Linked DNA regions of Homo sapiens: region 1 is linked to region 2. Evidence: promoter capture Hi-C in human tissues and cell types (Jung and others, 2019). All regions are on one chromosome and are shown on one strand. The core of a region is centred on a gene start or on the middle of the fragment in contact, and the rest is flanking DNA. Distances in the headings are between cores, read along the strand shown. Region 1 has its middle 15 kb from the start of RXYLT1. Region 2 holds the start of SRGAP1 (SLIT-ROBO Rho GTPase activating protein 1).

What was found. The method cuts DNA at HindIII sites, captures the fragments that hold promoters and counts their contacts. A contact is called where the count stands out against the background at its distance.
Region 1: a contact is called between a fragment that was not itself captured here and the fragment with the promoter of SRGAP1 in region 2, in 2 of the 25 tissues and cell types used here (heart left ventricle and mesendoderm cells).

Annotation. Positions count from the first base shown.
Region 1 is chr12:63,763,050-63,767,341 of GRCh38, reverse strand. No RefSeq gene overlaps it. Among named protein-coding and RNA genes, the nearest start is that of RXYLT1, 15 kb to the left of the region's middle. The HindIII fragment of the contact is 5,556 bases long and covers 256-4,292 here.
Region 2 is chr12:63,841,526-63,846,226 of GRCh38, reverse strand. It overlaps SRGAP1 (SLIT-ROBO Rho GTPase activating protein 1), which reads right to left and starts at 1,527. Exons shown (of 22, transcript NM_020762.4): 1 at 1,344-1,527. The coding sequence starts at 1,410. RefSeq lists silencers at 1,685-1,944, 2,055-2,114, 2,175-2,594 and enhancers at 1,521-2,020, 2,021-2,522. The HindIII fragment of the contact is 18,473 bases long and covers 1-4,701 here.

The DNA.
Region 1 (4,292 bases), core at 1,784-4,283, 80 kb after region 2:
GTAGAGGCGGGGTTTTGCCACGTTGCTCAGGCTGGTCTTAAACTCCTGGAATCAAGTGATCCTCCTGCCTTGGCCTCTCATAGTGCTGGGATTAAAGGTGTGAGCCACCATGCCTGGCCTTCAAATGAAATTTCTTTGTGGCAAAATGGCAAGCTATGTCTCTGACACTGTGGTAATACCCGCACAGCCAACTCAATAGCTTCAGACCGGACTCTCCTTGCTTATTGTCTTAAAAGTTACTATGGGTAACGTTTGAACAACAGTTGGCATAATTCATGTCCCAAGTATGTATGTAGCTATGTGCAAAACATGTCACACAGTCAGCCTGAACAAATGATATCTGAATCATATGACCCAATTTTCTAGTTTAAACAAAAATAGTATAGGCTTGAAATTTATCTATGATTCAAATAAATGTTGGGGGTTTTGATGTGGGAAATTTAAATACATTTTGTAGTAGATTTTGTGCTCCTTGCTCTGACATCGTAGCTTCTTGAGTCAGCAAAAGAGAAAGGTTAATAAAGGTGGCACTGTCCAAAAAAAAAATCACTGAAAATTTTTGGATAAAACAATACTGTCAAGATGAATTATTCCAAAATGCAGTTTTTAAAAACTGCATTTAAAGAAAGTGAACAGAGGAGGGAGCTGTAGGTAGAATTTTAACCACATGCATACCACTATCTTTATATTAGAGATTTCTGATATATGCTAATATAAATGTACACATTACTAAAAAATTATATTACACATAAAAATTGTATGCTTATGTATCTGTGAATTGGAGATGTTTGCTTGCAGGTTAAAAAAAGAATGTTATAAGGTTGATTCTAGGTTTGTTATTAAGGATACCTGTGTTCACAAATGATGTCCCTTTTTTTAAATTCTTTTTTTTGTGAGGTCATTTTTTAATTTAATTTAATTTTAATTTTAATTTTGAGACCGGGTCTTGTTCTGTTATCCAGGCTGTAGTGCAGTGGTGTGATCATGGCTCACTGCAGCCTTGACTTCCTGGGCTCAGGCAATCCTCCCACCTCAGCCTCTTGAGTAGCTGGGACTATAGGCAAGTGCCACCATGTCCAGCTAGTTAAATTTTTTTTTTTAAGAGATGGGGTCTCTCTATGTTGCTTAGGCTGGTCTTGAGCTTCTGGGCTCATGCAGTCCTCCCACCTCAGCCTCCCAAAGTGCTGCGATTATAAATGTGAGCTACATGCCTAGCCAAGGTCACTCTTTCATAAGTAAACCATGTTTCTCAGGTTACACCAATCAAGTGGGCAAAGTGAATTAATAATAACAATTTTAAAAAAGAAAGATTTCTTGGCTCTGCCACTATCACTTTGCATGAACGCTTGTCTCCTCCTTGATATTCCTGCTACAAATATCTCTTCCCCCGTAGCCTTTGTTATTCACCTCCTCCTTCACCTTGGTTTGCCGTGGTGCCATCTTCGTCTTCTGTATGAAACACCTAGGTAAAGCTCAGTGAAGTTGCCTTCATTACTGCTGCTGGGAGAGGTCTACACTGACACTTCCCTGCCATATTGATACAAGTGGTACTAATATTAATATTAATATTGGTGCCAAGGGTCTCTTGCCACTGCCAATATTGCTGGTATGGTATCCACTAACTATGCAAAATATTGTCAACAGTGCTGCTTATATACAGCTCCTTTATCCTCTGCTCATTTTTCATCCTAAATAGATCTCTTTAGTTTTATTTCCATCAGGCCTTAAAATATGCCCAGTCTTGCCTGTATAAAGGCTGTTTAGAATCAAGCTTGGATCTTACAAAGATTTTAGGACAATTGTATTGCCATTTTTTGCAAAAGCCAGAGAGGGAGGGGGGACCCCTATTACTGTGTATATCTGAGATAATATAATCTGGTTTGAACTTGTTCATGGAGCTGAAGATAAATGTATCTTCAGCAACCATTCATTGAATAACCTATTCTCTATTATTATTTTTCTGTTCAGATACATAAACAGATCTGTGCTATATTGCTGTCTGGTCTCACATCAATTCTATTCTATACATATGAACAAGTTCAATTTAGGCAATGTTTATTTCTAGAGGTAATTTTTTCCCTTTGGCATGTGTATATAAAAACTTTCCACTGCTGTAAACCCTTCCTTCCTTCCTTTCATCCTTTTTTCCCCTTCCTTCCTTCTTTCCTTCCTTCCTTCCTTCCTTTCATCCTTTTTTCCCCTTCCTTCCTTCTTTTGTTCCTTCCTTCCTTCCTTCCTTCCTTCCTCCCTCCCTCCCTCCCTCCCTCCCTCCCTCCCTCCCTCCCTGTTTTCCTTCCTTCTTCTCTTTCAACAATTTTCCATGGGTCTGTCATGTTTCTGTATGTCTTGTGAGGAAAGGCGTTGGGCCATCTTTGTTCTGGACTGTTTTCTCAAGGATGTTTGTTAGCAAAGAGCCTTGGAAGATGGAGGTAGTGTCTTCCTCTGGAGAAAAAAAAGCAAGGTTATTTACTGCCCAGTATCATAAAGAATGATTTTCTTCGGGGCGAAAAGTTCAAGCAGGCTTACTGCCCATCATAAAAGATTTGGGTTTCCCAAGCTCAAGGATCCTCAGCTGTGAGGCAAACCCACTGCGTGAGCAGCATCCACTTGGAGCCCTCTGGCTTGCCTGGCAGAGGTAGAGGCAAGGGGAACTGGCATGAAACATGATCCTTAGGCTACTTGCTGTGCCTTGGTCTTTGACCCAGGAGTCTTGGGTCTTCTGCCAGCATCTGTGGAACTGTGGCAGGCTGATTTATTAGCTTACAAGTAAGGTAAAACCTCAGACCCTTCACAGTTTCTGATTCTGTCTTCCCAGCATTAAGATTCCTTTTGAAGAATACCAAGTCCATATGAAAGACTTTATAAATAATAATGCATAAGTACAGATTCGTTAGTGTAGGCTGTTTAATTGTTGACTGATTTCTGATGGAAAAGTCTGACAAGATGTTCACAGCTCATATTTTCTGAGAGTTTCAGTTTTTGACAGATTGATCTTTTAAAATATTAGGTTGTTGAAGTTCTTATTTTCTTATTAATCTCCTATTAATGTTAAACTTCATTGGGACTTTATCTTCCTAAAATACATATATAACTCGTAAAGTTACTCACAGTATTTCAAATATTTGAAGCCACCCATGATAGTCTATTTTATCTCCCTGAGTCTCCTGTATGAGCTAAAATTTCTCCAATTGCTTTAAGTGGTGTGGTTTTGAGTCTGATCACCATTCTATACTTTCCTCTGAAAAAGTTTCACTACAAAATGTGGCATCTCATTTTTCTTTTCCTTCTTTCCTTTCCTTTCCTCCTTTCTTCTTTTCTGTTCTCTTTTCCTTCCTTCCTCTCTCTTTCTTTCTCTCTCCTTCCTTCCTTTCTTTCTTTCTGCTTCTTTCTTTCTTTCTTTCTTTCTTTCTTTCTTTCTTTCTTTCTTTCTCCTTCTCCTTCCTTCCTTCCCCTTCCTTCCTTCCTTTTCTTTTCTTTTCCTTTCTCTTTCTCTCTTTCTTTATTTCTCTTTCTCTTTCTGTCTCTTTCTCTCTCTCTCACTTTCTTTCTTTTCTTTCTTTCTTTCTTTCTTTTTCCTTCTTTCTTTCTTTCTTTCTCTTTCTTTCTCTCTTTCTTTCTTTCTTTCTTTCTTTCTTTCTTTCTTTCTTTCTTTCTTTCTTTCTTTCTCTCTTTCTTTCTTTCTTTCTTTTCCCCTCTGTCTCTCTTTTTCCTTTCTTGACAGTATCTCACTCTGTCACCCAGGCTAGAGTGCAGTGGCATGATCATAGCTCACTGGACCCAAGAACTTCTGGGCTCAAATGATCTTCTTGCCCCAGCCTCCTGAGTAGCTGGGACTACAGGTGCATGCCACTATGCCCAGCTAATTTTTAAAATTTTTTGAAGAGATGGGGGCCTTGTTTTGTTGCCCAGGCTGGTCTCGAACTCCTGGGCTCAAGTGATCCTCTTATCTCGGCCTCCCAAAGTGCTGGGATTACAGGTATAAGCCACTGTGGCCAGTCCCATATTTCTATACACTAGCAATGTATGGTTGTAAATGGAAAAAATATTAATAACTATACAATTTATAATAGTTCCCTGTCCCCTCAAAAAGAAAGAATTTAAGTATAACTCTAACTTAAAAGTATCCAGGATATGTATGCTGAGCACTAAAGAAAACACTACCTGCCTGGGCAACATGGTGAAACCCCGTCTCTACCAAAAATACAAAAATTAGCCAAGCGTAGTGGTGCACGCCTGTAGTCCCGGCTACTCAGGATGCTGAGATAGGGAGATGGTTTGAGTTTGGGAGGCTA
Region 2 (4,701 bases), core at 278-2,777:
TCCATAGCAATGAAACAAGTTCCTGTAAGTATAAATTATCACAATTCCAAGCAGACAAAAATCTGTGTCTCCTGAACACATTATAGGGGTCAGCCTATAGATAACTCCATTATAGGGGTCCTCCTAAAGATAACCTAAGTTATCTTGCATATTGTGTCTGCAGTGTCCACAATGAGTTGGTCTGTATTCACACTGGATGATACAGGATTTCTCCACCAGGTCCTCTCACAGGACTCCAGGCATTTTTACAACTTGACCACACAAAAGAACACTCAGGCTGCTCCTCCCTTGCTCAAGGGAAGTACAGTAATGCCTCTCTCCGTAGCCCTTTCATAAGACTGTGCATAGATAAACACAGGTGTATACATAGCAATCTTTATGAACTTTGCATTGAATGTGTCAAAGAACAGTGGCGGTCCCAACATTCCATCCATTGTCTCAATCAGGAAAGCTACTCCTGAGACCTCAGGAAAGAGGAGGAAAAAATTCAAGTAACACATATGTTTACGAAACACTTCAGTAACAAAACAAAATACTTGTATTGGAGAGAAAATATATATATTTTTAATCACAAGGCATAGAAAGTAAAAATAATCAGCCTTAATTAGGTTTCCTTCATTAGTTGACAATGTAAATGGACTGAAACTACTACTCAAATATTCAAACCTTCATTTTACATGCAAGTGGCTTCCAGAAAATGATAAAGCAATATTCCCATGTGAGTGTGAAAGATGGCAATGAATTCTGGCCCATTATAAAGGAAGAGTCAGATTCCACTAGTCACTGCTTCGTTTAACTGCCAGGCTTTTAGGGAGCTATTTAATAAAAGGGGTCTCGCCCTAATAAATTGTGAGCGGTGTAAATAGGTGAGTGGTGTAAATATCTGAAATAGCCTGCACTCAATGAGGCTGTAGACCGCTTGGGGTTCACAGACTTTACAAAAATCATTCCGTAAAAAAATTACGTAGTGACAATCCTACCATTTAAAAAGAATAATGATGGTGATAATAATAGCTGGACAGGATCCTCCACTGCTGCCTGCTTCCCACATAAGTTGCCCAGCTGAAGGTGGTTAAGTTAAAGCCAGTTCTCTCCCCATTAGAGATGCGGGCTGGCAGCTGGCGGGGGAAGTCACCCAGTTTCCAGCTCCCCGTGGGTTTGACGGGACTGGGATTGCAACTGGGAACTAACTGGCTTGTAGGAAGCCCAGGTGGCTCAGACAGGGCTCGAGCTGTCCCCTCACCACCTTCCTCCCACGCAGACACCAAGTTAGATACGCAACTCCACGAGCACAATGACAAGAAGGCACACAAAAGGAGCAAGGCAGCCGCTCCCATCCTTACCTTTGACTTGACTTTCATACTCGGCTATGATCTCTTTGTCCTTCTTGAATCGGCTCGGGGTGGACATTATCCAGCTGTTCCGGGTTTGCTTTCAATGGGCAAGTTTTGTTCAGTGGTCACAACCCGTTCTCCTTGGAGAGGCAGAGTTGTACTCCCACACGCAGGCAATCCAGAGGCAGCGCCGACCCGAGGGAAGGGAGGAGGGAGAGGAGAAGTAGGAGGAGGAGGGGAAAAAGAGCGAGTAGAGAGGACTAGATTAGCCCGGGCGCTGGCACCATACTCTCGAAATTGAGCTCCGTCGGTAATCCCAGGGGATCCCCGGGGGAGAGGCCGGACGCGCAGGCAAACTCCAGCCAGCGAGTGGCGGGGGACGTCTCCCTGCCCACCTCGCCGGGAGCCCGGCCACTTCCTCTACGGCCGCTGGGCGGGCGCGGGGCTCGCGCCGGCGCTCCGCACCATTGTTCGAGACCCGCACCGGGCGCCCGGGACAGGGCCAGCGGCGGAGGGCAGGCGCTGGGAACGCGCCCAGCTCGGGCGCCACAACCCTCCCTTCCTGCCTCCAGCTGTCGGCTCCGGCGCTCAAGGGTCCCGCCCGGGCTGGGGATGCTGCTGCCACGGCCGCCGCTCCTCTGCCCGCAGACACTGCCGCTACAGCTCGGCAGGCGAAAGGAATCGCAGTCCTGACGCGAGTCCCCGCTGCTGCTGAGAGGGTGAAGGCGGCGACGCTCAGACGCGCCCTGGGCACAGCCCCGGCGGAGTTTAGGTCTCCAGAGCCGGCGCCGCGAGGGGCCTCTGCCTCCCTGGCCGCGGTGCGCCGAGGCTGCCTTTCTCTGCGTCCCCCTTTCCGCTGCTGCCCCCAGGAGGCCGCTAGTGACAGGCACACTCGCACACGCACGCGGGAGCCGCGCCCCCGGCGGCAGCAAAGTTGAGGGTGCGCACACGGCTCGCGCCTCGCGGGCGCCCGGCTAGCGATCTGCGGGCGGTGGCTCCTCGGGGCTCCGCCAGGCGGGGCCAGGCTCGCGGGAGCGGACCGCGCTCCGGCCTGTGCCCTTCTCCGTCCAAGCTCCCGCCCCTGCTCCGCTAGGAAACGCCTGGCTGGTCCGGGAAGATGGATGCCTCTTGTGGCCAACCGCAGCCCGGCCCCGCGCGCCGAGCCCAGGAGGCCGTGGGCGGCGCCCCCGGCACCTCCCTCCGCCGAGGCCCCGCACCTCCCTCCGCCGAAGCCCCGCTCCACCGCTAGCCGAGGTCGCGGCTCCGGCGGCAGGAAAACCCCTTCCTGACCTGAGGGACCGCCTTCTGGCTCTGGCGGGGGCTCTGGTGGGGCTTTTGCCAGAATCTAATGGGGAAGTCCAGAGTTGGATGTATCCATGACACAAAGGGATGTTACTCCGAGACGCTGGACCCCAATAGAAAAACTGAACACTGAATTGTGAATGACCTGGCTGTTAATCCAAAGAGCGCGAAGCTCTTCAATCGAGGCGGAGAAAAACACCCACCTTGAACACCATATCCTCTATTCCTACAGTAGATAGGGAAGCTAGGATGGTAGGAAAGCGATGGTATGGAAACACGTCACACTTAACGGCGTTGTTAGCTTATTTATTTACTAAACTCCAGATTTTATTCCAATTTTACCAATTTTTTCGACTAGTGTCATTTTTTCTGTTCCAAGATCCAACACAGGACACTACATTGCACTTAGTACTTTTACGGTTGTTTTTGTTTTTGTTTTTTGATTTTGTTTTTTGGGGGTTTTTTTTGAGACGGGGTCTCACTCTCGCCCAGGCTGGAGTGCAGGGGCACGAGCTCCGCTCACTGCAACCTCCGCCTCCCGGGTTCAAGTGATTCTCCTGGCTCAGCCTCCAGAGTAGGTGTGACTACAGGCGCCCGCCACCGTGCCTGGGTAATTTTTGTATCTTTAGTAGAAACAGGGTTTTGCCATGTTGGTCAGGCTGGTCTTGAACTCCTGACCTCAAGTGATCCGCTCACCTCGGCCTCCCAAAGTGGTAGGATTACAGGTGTGAGCCACGGCGCCCGGCCACGTTTTTAATAGATACCTTTTACAAGATCTATCGTGTCTAGTCTCTTTTTATTTTATTTGTTTGTTTGTTTTCATTTTAGTACAGACGGGGGTCTCCCTATGTTGTCCAGGCTGGTCTCAAACTCTAGTCTCTTTTTGAACAATATAACGAAGAATTTACCTTGCCATCTTTGCATGGTTCAGGTGTTGTGTTAAGTACTTTAAATCCATCCTTGCCAGCCTTTTAAATTTTTTTTTATTATTTTTACTTTTTTGTAGAGATGAAGCCTTGCTCTATGGCCCAGGCTGGTCTCAAACTCCTGGCCTCAAAAGATTCTGGCTGGGCACGGTGGTTTACACCAGTAATCCCAGCACTTTGGGAGGCCGAGGTGGGCAGATCACAAGGTCAAGAGTCCGAGACCAGCCTGGCCAACATGGTGAAACCCCATCTCTACTAAAAATATAAAACTTAGCCGGGCATGGTGGCATGTGCCTATAATCCCAGCTACTCAGGAGGCGGAGGCAGGAGAATCGCTTGAACCCAGGAGGTGGAGGTTGCAGTGAGCCAAGATTGCACCACTGCACTCCAGCCTGGGCGACAGAGGGAGACTCCTTCTCAAAAAAAAAAAAAAAAAAAAAAAAGAAAATCCTCCGACCTCAGCCTCCCAAAGCACTGGGATTACAAGCATCAGCCACCACACCTGGTTCTGTTAGCCTTTTTGACTCACACCACTTGAGATATTTACTGACTCCTTTCAAATCAATTCTCAAATATTATGGGCCTGATTTATCAAAATGATGTGTCCAAAGGTGTATCCCCTCAAGTGTTTTCCCCACAAGATCTAAAGAAAGTAGGGACTTTTAGACTTTGATCATTCTTTCATGTATCCAGTGATCGGCTCTCCAGTTCTTAACTCTGTGCCAAACACCACGCTAGGAACTAGGGATTCAAAGATTAAGACTGCCGGAAAGGATCATGCAGTCTATTACTGTATAAATAAATAATTACAAGCAGTACAATAATGCTGTAAGAGATAGAAATACTCCCAGTCTTGGGAGCACTGGGGATGGAAAAACAGACTGCATAAGAGGATTGGGTGTAAGAGTTCGCAGAGGAGTGGTTTTGAGCTGGATTTAAAGGATGAATAGTAAGTAGCTGGCAACTTTAGGGAGGAAAAGGGATGCATTCCAGGGAAAAGGAAGAGTGTTATACTCTAGAGGAATTGCAAATAGAGTGACAAGATATCTTCCACTAAGATACCAGATCTCTGCTAGATGGTGAAAAATAATGTAAAAAATTGTAATATATGTATATGCATGTGTCAGCTGATAGTATGT